Linked DNA regions of Homo sapiens: regions 2 and 3 are each linked to region 1. The links are contacts of gene promoters, found by promoter capture Hi-C in blood cells and fetal thymus (Javierre and others, 2016). All regions are on one chromosome and are shown on one strand. Each heading gives the region's core, a stretch centred on a gene start or on the middle of the fragment in contact. The rest is flanking DNA. Distances are from core to core; before and after follow the strand shown.

What was found. Contacts are between HindIII fragments. The CHiCAGO score rates a contact against its expected background, and 5 or more counts as called.
Region 2: the fragment with the promoter of HNRNPLL here is called in contact with the fragment with the promoter of STRN in region 1 in 1 of 17 cell types (neutrophils); the score reaches 5.7 in neutrophils.
Region 3: a fragment that was not itself captured here is called in contact with the fragment with the promoter of STRN in region 1 in 1 of 17 cell types (monocytes); the score reaches 5.6 in monocytes.

What each region holds. Positions count from the first base shown.
Region 1 is chr2:36,964,045-36,969,097 of GRCh38, reverse strand. It overlaps STRN (striatin), which reads left to right and starts at 2,562. Exons shown (of 18, transcript NM_003162.4): 1 at 2,562-2,868. The coding sequence starts at 2,635. RefSeq lists a silencer at 2,072-2,881. The HindIII fragment of the contact is 8,803 bases long and covers 1-4,244 here.
Region 2 is chr2:38,600,710-38,605,762 of GRCh38, reverse strand. It overlaps HNRNPLL (heterogeneous nuclear ribonucleoprotein L like), which reads left to right and starts at 2,835. Exons shown (of 13, transcript NM_138394.4): 1 at 2,835-3,325. The coding sequence starts at 3,137. RefSeq lists silencers at 2,656-2,725, 2,946-2,995, 3,016-3,115. The HindIII fragment of the contact is 8,602 bases long and covers 1-5,053 here.
Region 3 is chr2:38,381,729-38,386,781 of GRCh38, reverse strand. No RefSeq gene overlaps it. Among named protein-coding and RNA genes, the nearest start is that of ATL2, 7.0 kb to the right of the region's middle. The HindIII fragment of the contact is 471 bases long and covers 1,851-2,321 here.

The DNA.
Region 1 (5,053 bases), core at 1,313-3,812:
TGGCTCACTGCAACCTCCACCTCCCGGGTTCAAGCGATTATCGTACCTCAGCCTCCCAAGTAGCTGGGACTACAGGCATGTGCCACCACGCCTGGCTAATTTTTGTATTCTTAGTAGAGACGGGTTTTGCCATGTTGGCCAGGCTGTTCTCCAACTGTTACCGGTGGAGAGTGTCCAGGTTGTTGAAATCTTGAACAAAGAATTGGGGAAAGCGCACAAAGCAAGGAAAGAATGAAGCAACAAAAACAGAGATTTGTTGAAAATGAAAGTAGGCTCCACAGTGCAGGGGCAGGCCCGAGCATAGGGGATCAAGAGTCCCGTTACAGAATTTTCTGGGGTTTGAATACCCTCTAGAGGTTTCCACTGGTTACTTGGTGTGCGCCCTATGTAAATGAAGAGGATGAAGTAAAGTTACAACGTCATTTAGTTGGTGTGCGCCCTATGTAAGTGGAGAGGACATTTCCTGTTATAGCTGAAGTATTTCCATTTGATTCAGTTCTAGGTAGTCAGCCTGAATCTACTTTACGTTCCCTGCCTCCAGACCCTATTCTCCTGCCTCCTGCCCACAACTCCCAGGCTCCAGTGATCTACCCGCCTCGGCCTCCCAAAGTGCTGGGATTACAGGCGTGAGCCATGGCGCCTGGCCAAAATGTAAATGAGTCCTCGTAAAGCAAAAAAAGTATTGTGAGTAATAAAGTTGAACTACGAATTAAAATAGTTTTTGTATATGTGTGGTAGTCCAGATTATCTATACATTTAATTACATTTTGTGTCTGCTATGAATTGACTTAAAGGAATTGTCGGATATGTCGTCTCACTCAAGGCCTCATTGTTGACAAGTCTCAATTTTTTTGGAATTTAGTTCCTTGAGCTGTAAATGAGAAGACTGGGCTGTATCTCAAAGGACACTGACAGCCAAAATAAGTTATGGCACAGGGAATTTGGCCAGGCCTGGATCAATCTTTGATGATAATAAAGAATGAATTCATAAAGCAGAAACATTAATTAAGCGAGAGAAGAGAGTTCTCCATCTTTATTTGCAACCAGAGCAGACACAATGTGTTTCCTGTCCTTTCTGCAAGTAGCCATGGGAAAGGGGGGGAGGGGAGAGAGGACAGGGACAGGATGTCTTTCCCTGACATGTCACTCAGCAGCCTAGATCTTTACATTTTTTCATGGCCATCAAGTCTGATAACCCACAAGTACGTCCTACAAAACGTAAGAATTTCAGATAACTTGTTAGGGTGACAAAATAAGTGCTTAATTTCATTTGCATTTGTTAAATTGTTTTCAGGGGCCTTCCTTTTTGCCACTGTTGTAGTGTGAATTTATAGTGACATATTGTCAGACTTCGGAGAAGGCAAATATTTACAGAGAGTAACTTGAAAGGACTTTGGTGTACCTTTGGTAGGCGGATGCTGTTGCCAGTTGGCAGGTGAATCGTGAAAGAAACTGGGAACAGGACAAGTGAAAACGGAGAGGGGCCAGGATATCTAAGACCGCGCTAGGGAGCAGAAAGGGAACTTGCTTTTTCAAGGTGGTGTAGCTTTTAAATTAAGCCTTTGTGATATTTGATTATACGCCAATCTTTGATGACAGAAACGATGTCATTTATCTTAATATTCCCAGCGCAAGAGAAAACCGATAATCAAAATATTTGTTCAATTAAGTAGAGTAAAAATCAGCGGGAATAAGATAGGAAAAATGAGACCGAAATAACAGAACATCTATTATTGGATGCTAAAACTTTTACAGGATTTACTGCAGGAGGACTGCAAAGGGAAAGAAACTTCAACGGAGCAGTTTTTCAGATGGGCTGTCAACAAACCACAATTTGGAAGCAGCAGCAGAAAGCTGCGGCGTTGTCTTAGAAAGGTGATCGGCGTTCCTTAGAAATGAAAACTGGTCAGGTAACAGGTTTGAGCCCCTCGAGTCAAAAGAGAAAGGCAAGAGCGACAGCGACCCGCAGATTGGCAGAATGGAGGAGCGTCTAGGGTGAGAGAAACTCCGAACACGAAGCCGAAGCGAGAGCACGCAGGGCAGCTGGCGGGAGAACCCCGGTCCCGCGGCCGCACCGGGTAGCTCGCTTTGAGCCTGTTCCTTCACAGAACGGCCAGGAAGCCTTAAAAGATGTGCAGCTCGGGCAGGTATCTTGGCGTGACAACTTCCGTGTGTGTGTGTGTGTGTGTGTGTGTGTGTTTTTGAATGCAACAGGGTGCGCCGCCCGCGAACTTCCGCGTGCGAGGAAGACTGGAGACCCGCCCGCCCGCGCCCAGCCGGCCCCAGAGGAAACCCGCTCTCCCCGCCCAGCCGGCCCCCTACGCGGCGAGCCGGGGCGGGGCGGGCCCGAGGCCACGCCCAAGCTGAGGCACAGCCCTACAGGCCGCCCGGGCCGCGCTAGCCCGCGCCCCGCCCCGCGACTACATTTCCCGGCAAGCCCCGGGCCGCCAGCGCGCCGCAGTTGACCCATTTCCCGGCCCGTCACGGGCTCGGCCGGCCCCCGCGCCCAGGAGGCTGCTCCCTGCTGACTGGGGTGTGGGCGGGAGCGGCGGAGGGAGGAGGAGGCGCTGCTTGCCGCCGCTGTTGCCTCCGCTGCTGGGCGCCGGGGCAGCTCCCCGGGTATCTGCGGCCGCCATGGACGAGCAGGCGGGTCCCGGCGTCTTCTTCAGCAACAACCACCCGGGCGCCGGCGGTGCCAAGGGGCTCGGGCCTCTGGCGGAGGCTGCCGCGGCCGGCGACGGGGCGGCTGCGGCGGGGGCGGCCCGAGCCCAGTACAGTCTCCCGGGGATCCTGCACTTCCTGCAGCACGAGTGGGCCCGCTTCGAGGTGGAGAGAGCCCAGTGGGAGGTGGAGCGGGCGGAGCTGCAGGTAAAGACCCTCCCGGCCTGGCCGTCTTCATCCCGCCTCTTTGCTCCCTTCCGCCCCGCCCCGGACCCTTCTCCCCCTCCCCCAGCCTTCTCGCGTCCCCTCCCCCTTTGCTGCCGCCCATCCCACCCGGAGCCCCGTCCCCTTCTTCTCTTCGCCTTTTGCCTTTCGCTGACCCCACCTCGACCCTGTTCTCACTCCCGCTCCTGGTGCGTTGTTTACCCTCCCCACGCCTGTTCGTCCGCCCCATCCCACTCTTAACTCCCAGACTCATTTCAACTCTCTGGCCATCCTGCATCTCAGGGCTGCCCTCTCGGTTTACTAATTGGGCTGGCAGTAGTTTTGAGAGACGCGGAGCAAATCGTCCGCTGCCCTGGTGTGCCCCTTCCTAGGTCTAGAGACAGTCTCCGCAGAACGTGCCGGCTTTGGCCCCTCTCTTCAAGGAAGGTGATCAAGAAGACAACAGAAGTTGTGTCAGGCCTTGAGTCGAGGCGAGAAGTTGACGTTGGGCAAAAGTGTTATTCATATATCAGATCCCTTTTTTTATATATGTAAATGTCTGTTCTCCACTTTCTTCCGACCCCCCGGCCCCCTCCCACGTTTCTTTTAGGTATTTCCAATTAATGCATTTTGAATGAAGGACCTAGATGATCGCAGTCAGAGAGAATGGTTAAGAGGTGGTTCCTGTTCTCAGAATCTGAAACTTCCCAAGGGTTAATTTTATGTTCAGTGTTTTGGGAGATTTTCTTGTGCTTTAAAAGGAACTAAAGGGACTTTGAAGTTAGTTACATTGCCTTGCATAATCTGCAAGATAAAGTATATCCAGGGAGGAGATAACTGTGGGCTCTGAAAAGAATGAAAGTGAGGCTGATACTTTACAAGCCATTCAGAATTGGTGAATAGGTTTTCAGTGGTTGTTCTTAAAACTTCCAGGGCATACACACCAATTTCAAAAGGAACTTAAAGAACTATGAATAGTTGTGCCTTTCTGTTTTACGGGCTAAGCCTGTATACTTATGAAATTTGAGTATAGTTTTAGTTGGCAAAACACTTGAGTTTAAAATGCTACCCAGTGTGTCACTTTTTTTGGTAACATGTATTTGGCGCTTAAGAAAAAAAAGAAGAGGAGAAATCTGTTAAATAGAATCATGTGCTGGAACAGGCTCTGGTGTAGTGGAAGTGGCTGTGGAAAGAGCGAACACACAAGGCTGTAGTAGACAAGGTTATAGTAAGGGCTGTGTTTGTTGCTAGCTCTGTGACCTTGAGGAAATCCTTTAACCTCTCTGGGTTTCAGTTTTATCATGTATTTTATTCAGCACCTGTGTATTGAGTGCCAGCTGTGTGTCTAGGCCCTGTGTTGAAAGAAAACCGACCAAGCTTCTGCCCTCATGGAGTTTATGTTTTAGTGGAGAGGCAAACAGTCCAGCAAATGCGCCTATAGAATATAATGGCTTATAGTGGCAACTGCTGTGAGGAAGAAATAAGTCAGAGTTCAGGAATAGCGTGTGATAGGGGCAGCTATTTTAGATGGGGTAGTCAGGGTAGGCCTCTGAGAGATGACAAATGAGCAGCTGAATGAAGTTAGGGAGTGACCAGTAGTTTCTATGATTTCCTTGTAAGTCTGTAGTTACATGTTTATATTATTTGGCAACTTTTTCATTCCTATTGTTATATTGCTGTAGTATTTAGTCGATCTAGTCTATCTGATATTTGCAAGTCTTCTTTGACCTTGTTTATATAGTCTCCAACAAATTTGAATACTTACAGATTGATCTTTATTAGCAGCGCATTCTATAAAAGGTGTGGATTTCAGGATTCAAGGAAATGTTAAAGGCAAAGTTTAACTTTAATGTTGTGCAGTTGTGGGGAATGATTTTTGTATTAGTTACTTAAAATTTAATTTCTTTTCCAGTTTTGGGAATATAGATAACTCACACTAATTTGGTTAAAAAAAAAAAAACAAAAACAAAACACACACACACACCAGAAAACAATGCTTACCTTTCTACCTGTAGAAGTTGGGGAATTCCAACCCATCCTTCCCCCCGCCCCGCCCCGTTCACTCCCTCTCCTCGTTTAAACTTTTCAATTTACTGGTAACTGTAGTTGATCTTCAGTTTTTATGCACACATCTCCAAACACCCCTTCCTGGGTTGTTTGTGGCAAATGTTTATTAACTTCAGGTAGC
Region 2 (5,053 bases), core at 1,586-4,085, 1.6 Mb before region 1:
CCCCTTTGAGCTGTGGCAATGGGAGCTCTTGGCTGCTGCCTACTTGACAGCAGCGAATTCAATCAAATGTTCAGAAAATAGTCAAAGGTCTGAGGCCGTAATGCATGAGAGGTTCCAGACAGTCATGGCATTTAGGAGCTGTTTCTGCTTTTCTTAGGTATTTCTGGCTACTGGGCAGTGTGTAATTTCTTTGTCTCACCTAAGTGAAATAATGTAGAGTATAATTTATGTCCTCTCTCTTTAGCTCCTCATGCCCTGGTGATGAGCTAGCTAGTATTTTCCTTATCAAAGGACCTACTGTCACTGTCTGAACAACTCATCTGCAACAAGCTCGCATTTCACCCATGGTTAACGAACTGATTGGTGTCCTTTAAAAATGCTTTCTAAGTTTTACTCCCTCAATATTTTTTTTTTTACTCAACTGGGCTACTTACAAAAAGAACAAAGTTTAATACTGGTACATATTGAATTCCACCTGCTGTTTGTGAACGCTGAGCACAGCAGCCCTAGGTTTGGCAAGGCTGGATTTCCTTACCCATTGGTGTGACAGTTGCATTGTAATGTGGTATAATCCATAGGTTGAATGCAGGGCTTTGAGAATTTAAAATATTTGCATCTTCACAAGAAATATTTGGAAAGTTTGTATAAGGCCTAGTAAATCCAGTTGTGAGTGAATAGAATTTACCAAACTAAATTCACCTAGCATATGAAAATGTACATAAAACAAAATTAACAGGTAGTTGCTCATACTTAACAAAAAGATATTTAGTGCTTCTCATCACACTCAATTATTTCACATAATATTCTATTGTTTTCTTTCTCCTAAAAAATAATTGTTTTAAGCTCTCAGCTCTTCTCTTTTAATTTGAGCAAACTAAAAATATCTTGAGAATGGCCCATCTCACCTCATCAAAGAAGTTTCCTTTGTATCAAGTTTATTAATTCACTCATCCTTTCCTGATCTTTGATACTGAGACTGCTATAAAAAGGACAATGGATGCTAAAGATAACACGTGAAGTAGGTTTGTTAGACCTTTTTTTTGACCCTTGGTATCTTCAGCTTTCTGAAGGCCAGGTAATGTCTGCATTCTGAATATGTTAGGGGACATATGAATCCATAGGACATATTTTAAGCAGAATTGTATCATTGTTTCCCTTGTTGCTATTTTACTTTCCCAAACCATTGCAGAGCTTTTTGCCAATGACATTTTCTCATCCGCAGCCAGCTCTGCCACTCTTTTGCTATTTCTTCTGTCGACTTCCATTTTAATTTAAAAAATAAATTTATAATTTTTTTAGTTCTGTTTTGTCAATGTATACCTGCAGCCGCACACACATTTGATTATAGCTGCATAGTGTGGAAAATCTTGCAATTAGATTCCAAAATGACAGCCGGTGTAATTTACAAAGTACAAAAGTGTTATGTTAAAGCACTCTCAGCAATAAATAAAAATAGCTTTTTTGGAGGAGGAAATAACTTTGGAGAGAACTAGGCTGGAGGAGGAAGCAATCTACACTCTTAGGAAAGGAAGAGCCACATCTAGGAAAGCATCCGAGGGACAAGGACAACAGAAACACAAGAGGCTCTTGATCTCAGGCAGTCCTCCAAGAGGCACCTGACAGAGGGCAGTTAGGTTGCCTTGATTTGCCAGTTTCTGTCCTGAAAGATACACTGGACCTTTATTTCCCAAGGACTACTCATTCAGCATTGTTGAGCACCTAAATTGTGCTGGAGATCGCACAGGAACTGGGCTTGCGAAAATGAAAATTGCACACAGTTCCTGTCTTCAGGCGCTCACAGAGTTTTTAAAACAGAACATCTTAAGAGGGAGTTATAAGGGGCCCTGTTGCAAAAAGAGAGCAGCAACTAAAATCTTGGAAAAGCCCTCAGGACACCACAGAGGAAGCAAGCTGTGATCACAGAACTTTGAAAGGCTTTTGTATCTTTCGACAATAAATGATCAAGTGAAGTAAATACATTGTCCAGAAGAGAAAGAATTGGGATGGAGGATGAGATTTTATATGGAAGGATTAAAACATATTTAACTGGAGCAGGGACTTACAGGGACAGGCAAGTCAGTAAAGGGCCCAGGTTACAAACGAGTTATAACCGATCAGACCGACGAGCGCCCGCGTGCAGCGCCTCCTGCCGACGCGCGCCTCGCAGCCTTCAGTCAATGCTGACAGCTGTTCTCCAACACCCAGCTAGGGGCGGGAGGGTCCGCCCACTTCTACCAGATTTTGCACACAAAACAGTGGAAAGACCATTCTCATGGCTCCAAGCCGTTTTCTCCCTTCATCGCCTGCAATTTTAGGGCTTTTCGGGGGGTATGACTGCAGGGATTTTAGAGGTTTTTTTCCTCATTCTCTTTTTAAGAGGTGATAAAAAGCATTTAAATTAGCGGCAGGGCGGTTAACACCCGCAGCCCTAGCCTCTCCGCACTTCTCGTCGCTCGTCCGTGTTCACTCCACGCCTGGCCTCGGGTAGGAGCCGCATAGCGCCAACGGTTGCGGGTCGCAACTACTCCCAGGCGGCGCGCCTTGCGCGCCGGGCCTCCCAGGACCGCGGCGAGTTCAGAAGGCGCGGGGAGAGAAGTGAGGTCGAGCAGCGGGCGGCTTTTGACGAACGGCCCTCACAGCCAATGGGAAGCCCGGTCGACTTTCCCGCCCCTGCCAATAGGGAGCAGAACCCGGGCCGGGGGGGGCGCTTCCCGCAGGCTGCGGCTGGATTCGATCCTGCGCGACGGCCGCGAAGGCGGGGGCGGAGGCTCGGCCTGCGCGGCTGGGAGCGGCTTAGGGGAGGAGGGAAGACCGGAAGCCACGGTTGCGTCCCCATCCTTAGATTCGCTCCTCCGGGCAGGGAGCGGAGACGGAGGAGGAGGAGGGAGAGGCTGAATGTTGGCTCGGTAATTGAGAGGAGCGGCCGCTCCAGAGCTTCCTCCCGGGGCGCCCCCCTCAGTCCGTCCGCGCTTCTCAGCCGCCAGTCTCCTGGCCGCGCAGTCCCCGCGGACGGCCGGGCCGCGGAGACCCTCGCAGAAGAGGCGCTGCCGGCGGCGAGGACTGGCCGGCGGCATCCGAGGCGCGCGCCCCACCGCCACCCCCACCCGCCTGCCAGCCGGTCCCTCCGGCCGCCGCCATGTCCTCCTCCTCTTCCTCCCCCAGGGAGACGTACGAGGAGGACCGGGAGTACGAGAGCCAGGCCAAGCGTCTCAAGACCGAGGAGGGGGAGATCGACTACTCGGCCGAGGAAGGCGAGAACCGCCGGGAAGCGACGCCCCGGGGCGGGGGCGATGGCGGCGGCGGCGGCCGGAGCTTCTCTCAGCCGGTAACAAAGCGCGGCCCCCCTGTCCGCTGTGCCTGGCTGCTCCCCGGGAAGCAGGGCCTCGGTGCGGGGCCTCCCGCTTGCTTCAGTTAGCCTTTTCCGCTGCGCCGACCCGTTTGGGGAAGCGCCCACTCTTCTCTTTGGGGCTCGTATTCTGGCCTCTACCTGTTTCCCGCATCCCGACTGCGAACCCGGCGCCGTCCTGGCCGCAGGCCCCGCAGCGAGTCCACTGCCGGGCCCTGAACTTGGGGAGGGTCGCGGCGCGGCGGCGGCGGCGGGGAGGCGTCGCTTCCGCTCTGGGGGGTTTCGCGGCTCGGGGAGCTCTTTGTTAGTTTAACTCCTCGGGCTCGGGGCCAGCGTCGGGACCACCGGTTCTCTTCAGTCCCTCTGCCCGCAGCAGCCGCGCGTTGGTCACCATCCCGGGATGGTTGCGTCGGTTCTACCGGGAGCTCTCTCCGCCTCGGTCCTATGGAGACCCGTAATTAAATAACAGATTATGCCTTGGCGTTCACATGCTAGTTCCCTTGAAGGTTTAATTTAAAAAATTTTAAAATTAAACTCTTTATAAGCATGGCGTGCATCCTTTGCTCTACCCAATTTTGTGGATTACTCAGTACACTTTTTACCTCTTCGGTTACAACACTTCAACAGAAGTGTTGGCAGCTGTTGGTACACCCCTACCTTCAAGTAAAACAAATCTTAAAATTACTAAAGTTTTTCATTGGTAATTTATTCCACATTTGCCCCATGAAAGGATGAAGTGAGCTCAGGGTTGCATTAAACACACATTCCTAGAGCCAGGTCTTTCTCTTACCAGAAATGTTAGGGGGAGGCAGAAGGAATGTGATCATTTTGTCCACAGCAAGTAGTTAGCTTCAGTTGGATGGAGACTTTAAGGAAACAAAGCGGAGCAAACGTTATTGCCCTTTTTTGGTGCACTTAAGCGGTTTTAATGACTTAGATGTTATTTAAACATTTAACACATGAATTGTGATTAATTCTGCAAACTTTAACAGAATTACGAAACTGTACACATATATCCTACTATTAGGTTAAAAGGGTTTTTACCTTACCTTTTAAAAATAAGACGCACATTAGAAGCCCTTTATAGCCGTTTGAATTTTTAAATAATAAAAAAAAAGGCTGGTCAGTCACCCAGCGTTGCAGTTTCCAGTTACCAGGATGTGAGAGCAAACTTTGCAACACATTTAAAAAAGGAACTTTTTCTCTCAGTCTTGTTACGGTGTTAGCTATTACTTTAGATTTTTGTGCCGAGCTATTTGAAATATTCAAAATGTAACTTGGAAGTGTGAATAAAGGAAATGGTTTTTTCTTAGGAAGTTTCAGTTCAAAGCCAACTCTGTTGTGGAAATTGGAAACAGGAATATTATAACTGATATTTCGATGTATTCGATCAGTGTACCTCGTTGCTAGAAATCTTGCTTGGGTTTTTGTGCAGCATCATGAAATGTCTTCAGGCATTTTGGAAAGATACTTAAATCAGATTATAAAAATTTGTTTTTGAAAACAGATAAAGCATTAAATCAATAGTATTATTTTGGATGTTGGGAAGAAAATAACATATAATTAATGTATCCAAAGCGAAATGTGTGGAGCGGTGGAAATGGCACTGAGTAGGGCTTGGGGGTGGTCAAGAGTCTAGGCTTAGCATACAATTTTTTTTTTTTTTTGAGAGGATCTCACTCTATGGCCCGGGGCTGGAGTGCAGCA
Region 3 (5,053 bases), core at 837-3,336, 1.4 Mb before region 1:
GCTCCTTTTTGTGATTCAGGTCTCCTTGGTGTACCTGTCTGAATCTCACCTCCAGCATCCATCTGATTCCTGGCATAGACTGAACACCACTGTACCACTATGATGACCTCTGGTTCTTAACTCAGCTACCTCCCTAATCCTCTATAGTGTGTGTGGTGACCTCTGGGTCCCAGCCAAGGGAAGCTAAGAAGGCATGACTAAGGCCCATTTACACCTAACCACCATGAACCATCATTTTTAATTTGCCGAGCCCTGTCCTGCCCTTCCCTTCTCTTCCGTCTTTTCTTTTCTTTTTCTTTCTTTCCTTCCTTCCTTCCTCTCTCTCTCTCCTTCCTTCCTTCCTTCCTTCCTTCCTTCCTTCCTTTCTTTCTTTCTTTCTCTTTCCTTCTCTTTCTTCCTTCCTTCCTTCCTTCCTTCCTTCCTTCCTTCCTTCCCTCCCTCCCTCCCTCCCTCCCTCCCTCCCTCCCTCTTTCTTTCTTTCTTTCTTTCTTTCTTTCTTTCTTTCTTTCTTTCTTTCTTTCTTTCCTTTCTTTCTTTCTTTCTTTCTTTTCTTTCTTTCTTTCTTTCTTTCTTTCTTCTTTTTTGAGATAGGGTCTCATTGTGTCACCCATGCCGGAGTGCAGTGGCATGATCATGCCTCACAGCAACCTCAACCTCCCTGGCTCAAGTAATTCTTCCACCTCAGCCTCCCGAGTAGCAGGGACTACAGGTGCACACCATCGCACCTGGCTAATTTTTGTGTTTTTTTTGGAGAGATGGGGTTTCTCTATGTTGCCCAGGCTGGTCTTGAACTCCTGGGCTCAAGCAATTAGCCCGCCTTGGCCTCCCAAAGTGCTGGGATTTACAAGCATGAGCCATCACACCCAGACTGAAAGAGAATTTTCTAAGTCACAGACAAATAAAAACTTTATTCACTACACTACAGGAAAAACTGAATTGCCTTTCTATTCTCTCTTCAGAAAATGATATCCCCAAATTGGCATAATATGAAGAGTCAAAGACCATACAGTGAAAAGATCAGAAAAAATGGTTTAGGCTGGGCGAGTTGGCTCATGCTTATAATCCCAGCACTTTGGGAGGCCGAGGTGGGCGGATCACTTGAGGTCAGGAGTTCGAGAGCAGCCTGGCCAACATGGTGAAACCCTGTCTCTACTAAAAATACAAAAATGAGCCGGGCATGGTGGTGCACACCTGTAATCTCAGCTATGTGGGAGGCTGAGGCAGGAGAATCACTTGAACCTGGAAGGGAGAGGTTGCAGTGAGCTGAGATCACACCACTGTACTGCAGCCTGGGCAAAAGAGCTGAGAAGACTCTGTCTCAAACAAAAAAAAAAAAAAGAAAGAAAATGTGGTATTAGAAAGGTATGCTATGAAGTTAATAAATAAAAAAATTATTTTTCTGTATTGTAGTATGTATTAGATAAAATTTGGTATTTTGAGGGGATTTCTTTTCTTATGCTAAATATGCATTTACTTATATAATTTGTTTTAATTCACAATTTGTTTTTTGTGGGGGTTTTTTTGTTTTTTTTTTTCAAGACAGGGTCTCACTCACATTGCCGAGGCTGGGGTGCAGTGGTGCAATGTCGACTCACTGCAGCCTCAACTTCCTGGGCTCAAGTGATCCTCTCACCTCAGCCTCCCAAGTAGCTGGGAATACAGGTGGGCACCACCACACATGGCTAATTTTTTGTATTTTTTTGTAGGGATGGGGTTTTGCCATGTTGCCTGGTTTGGTCTGGAACTCAAGTGATCCACCTGCCTCAGCCTCCCAAAGTGCTGGGATTACAGGCATAAGCCTAGCCTCACAATTTGTTTTCTTAAAGAAATTTCTCAAACTTGTAGAAGCTTCAGGACCCCCAAAATACTAAATCTGTTCCTGATGGGAGCTACATGGCGCATAGTCTCATTTACAGTGGCCACCAATGGATATTGGGGCACACCTATGGAACATGTCCTGTTGGTGAGTGCCATTTGTCATTTGTATCACTGTAAAACAAAACAATGTGAAAAAATTAAGAGCCACTGCTTTAGACAGCAGAAGCAAACAAGTAACTTTAACAGAGAGTGATTAGCACTATCTGAATTCAGAGTTTATTATTGCTCTGTATTTGCTTATGCATTTACCACATATATATGTTTATATATTGGTATGACACCAAGGGTATGTGTTCTGGTTACCAGTTGCTCTATAGCAAATTACAGAGATGAAAGGAAATATTTGGCTGCTCTCCAGTTACAAAACAAAATGTCTTAAAACAACAGTCATTTTATTATGTCTTACTATAGCTCGCCTTCTTGGAGGGTGATCAGGATAAGCTTGAAAGATAAATATTTGCCAGGCCGACCAAGTGGCAGTGGCATTACATGCAATATTTGAGTCTGAGCAAAGAACTGTGGGGAAAATGAAAAGATGGAACTCGTATTCTGAGCATTTATAATTGAAGACAGACCCCAAGAATATTTGGGAAGGGGAGAAATGGTGTGAGTCTAGGAGGAAGTGTTTGAGGTGAGTACAGATTTCACCATCAAAGTATAATAACGAAATGACTCTAGTGGCCGTGAATCCAAGAATTAAATAGGTTACAACATGGACAGTGACTCTAAGGACATTGTCAAGGTGCAGTGTTTCTTCCTACCAACCAGCCAGCCAGTTTTTAGAAGTTAGGAATTTAGCTTGAGTGTGAGTTGGAAAGAAAGATTTGGCTGCTCTCCAGTTACAAGAACAGTATGTTGGCTGTAATAAGGCCTATGTAGATATTGTCTTAATCTTAAAAGAGGCCAAGATATACAGTTCCTTCTATGCAGTCTGGATTTCCCACTGATTTCAAAGGCATTCCTGAGGGCAGGCCAGTTATGAGAAACACATTAGGCGCGGTCCAGACAGGCTGTTCAAAGAGGATACCATTCACCACCCCGTTTTCAGAGGAGCCTAAAGCACACGGCCATGTTCGCTTCAAGCTACAAGCATGTTTTCTGCGTAATGGTGTTTACTTTCACTCCTTTTTTTGTTTTGTTTTTATTTACTTATTTTTTGAGACTGAGTTTAGCTCTTGTTGCCCAGGCTGGAGTGCCATGGCACGATCTCGGCTCTCTGCAACCTCCGCCTCCTGGGTTCAAGCGATTCTTCTGCCTCAGCCTCCCGAGTAGCTGGAATTACAGACATGCGCCACCACGCCCAGCTAATTTTGTATTTTTAGTAGAGATGGAGTTTCTCCATGTTGGTCAGGCCCGTCTCAAACTCCCAACCTCAGGCGATCCGCCCGCCTCGGCCTCCTAAAGTGCTGGGATTACAGGCGTGAGCCACTGCGCCTGGCCACTCCTTCATTTTTATTTTTGAAAATGTACTATAGGATATTATATTGTGCCTAGAGTTCCTGCCAGTGTTCTTTTGTATGCGAATTGTAATTAAAAAACCAGTATCTATCTATTTTTCCAAACATAAACAAGTCCAGTTTCTGGATTTGAACTTTTGTTCCTCCTGCTACTAAATCATTTTAGTAACTGCAAGACACCTATGAACTCTATAGTAGTCAGTCGTTCAAGTAGGAGCTACCAGTTGCATCTAGGACAGTGCCAGTTATCTTGATCATGGGTGCCCTAAATCTGCACCTCATCCTCTCCAGCTATTCAAAACAGTCTTCTGGACATCCAGAAGCTATGCTTCTAGCTATTTAGTTGTCTGTAGAAGGTGATTGTAGAGTTTTCAGTGCCTAGCCACAATGCCAGTGTGTTATCTGAAGATACACGGTTAAGAACATGGGCTCCAGCCTGACCAACATGGTGAAACCCCATCTCTATTGAAAATACAAAAAGTAGCCGGGCGTGGTGGCGCGCACCTGTAATCCCAGCTACTTGGGAACGCTGAGGCAGGGCAATCGCTTGAACCCAGGAGGTGGAGGTTGCAGTGAGCCGAGATCGTGCCATTGCACCCCAGCCTGGGTGTCAAGAGTGAGACCCTGTCTTTTTTTTTTTTGATATGGAGTCTCACACTGTCACCAGGCTGGAGTGCAGTGGTGCAATCTTGGCTCACAGCAACCTCTGCCTCCCAGGTTCAAGTGATTCTCCTGCCTCAGCCTCCCAAGTAACTGGGACTACAGGCACGTGCCACCATGCCCAGCTAATTTTTTGTATTTTTAGTAGAGACGGGGTTTCACCATGTTAGCCAGGGTGGTCTCGATTTCCTGACCTTGTGATGTGCCTGCCTCGGCCTCCCAAAGTGCTGGGATTACAGACATGAGCCACCGCGCCCAGCCTGAGACCCCGTCTTTAAAAAAAAAAAAAAAAAGAACATGGGCTCTCGCCAGTGGTGGTGGCTCATGCCTATAATCCCAGCACTTTGGGAGGCCGAGGCAGGCGGATCACAAGGTCAGGAAATCGAGACCACCCTGGCAACATGGTGAAACCCCATCTCTTCTAAAAATACAAAAAATTAGCTGGGTGTGGTGGCATGCGCCTGTAGTCCCAGCTACTCGGTCTCAAAAAAAAAAAAAAAAAAAAAATAGAACATGGGCTCTCAGAACAGACAGAATTTGGGGGTTCAAATTTTAGCTCTTCAATTTAGTAGTCATATGGCCTTGAAGAAATTAAGTAACATTTTAAAGTCCCCGTTTCTGTAGAATGCTGATGGTGAGGATGATGTCAATAATCCTTGCCTCATCAAAGTATTTTGTAGATTAAATGAAATTATGAACAGGTATTATTACTAATGGTATTCTTGCTCTTTAATCCCTTCTTAGACTTAAAAGAGCTGTTTTATTGGAGCATTAATCATGATGGCTATCATTTATTGCCATGTGCCAGCACTAGGCTAAATACTTTATCTACGTGATCTATGATCATAATGAAACATGCAAGGAAGAGACCTTTACTTTACAGCAGAGGAAACTGAAGGTCAGAGAGGTTAATGATCTTGGTCATAAAACCAAGAGGTAGATAGAGCTGGGGTGCGAACTCAAAGCTGCTGTTCTTTCCACTAAGCCCTACTGATACTCATGTATCCCAGTTTAAGTCATTGCCTCTGCAGAGGAATTCAGCTGGGAAGAATCATTAT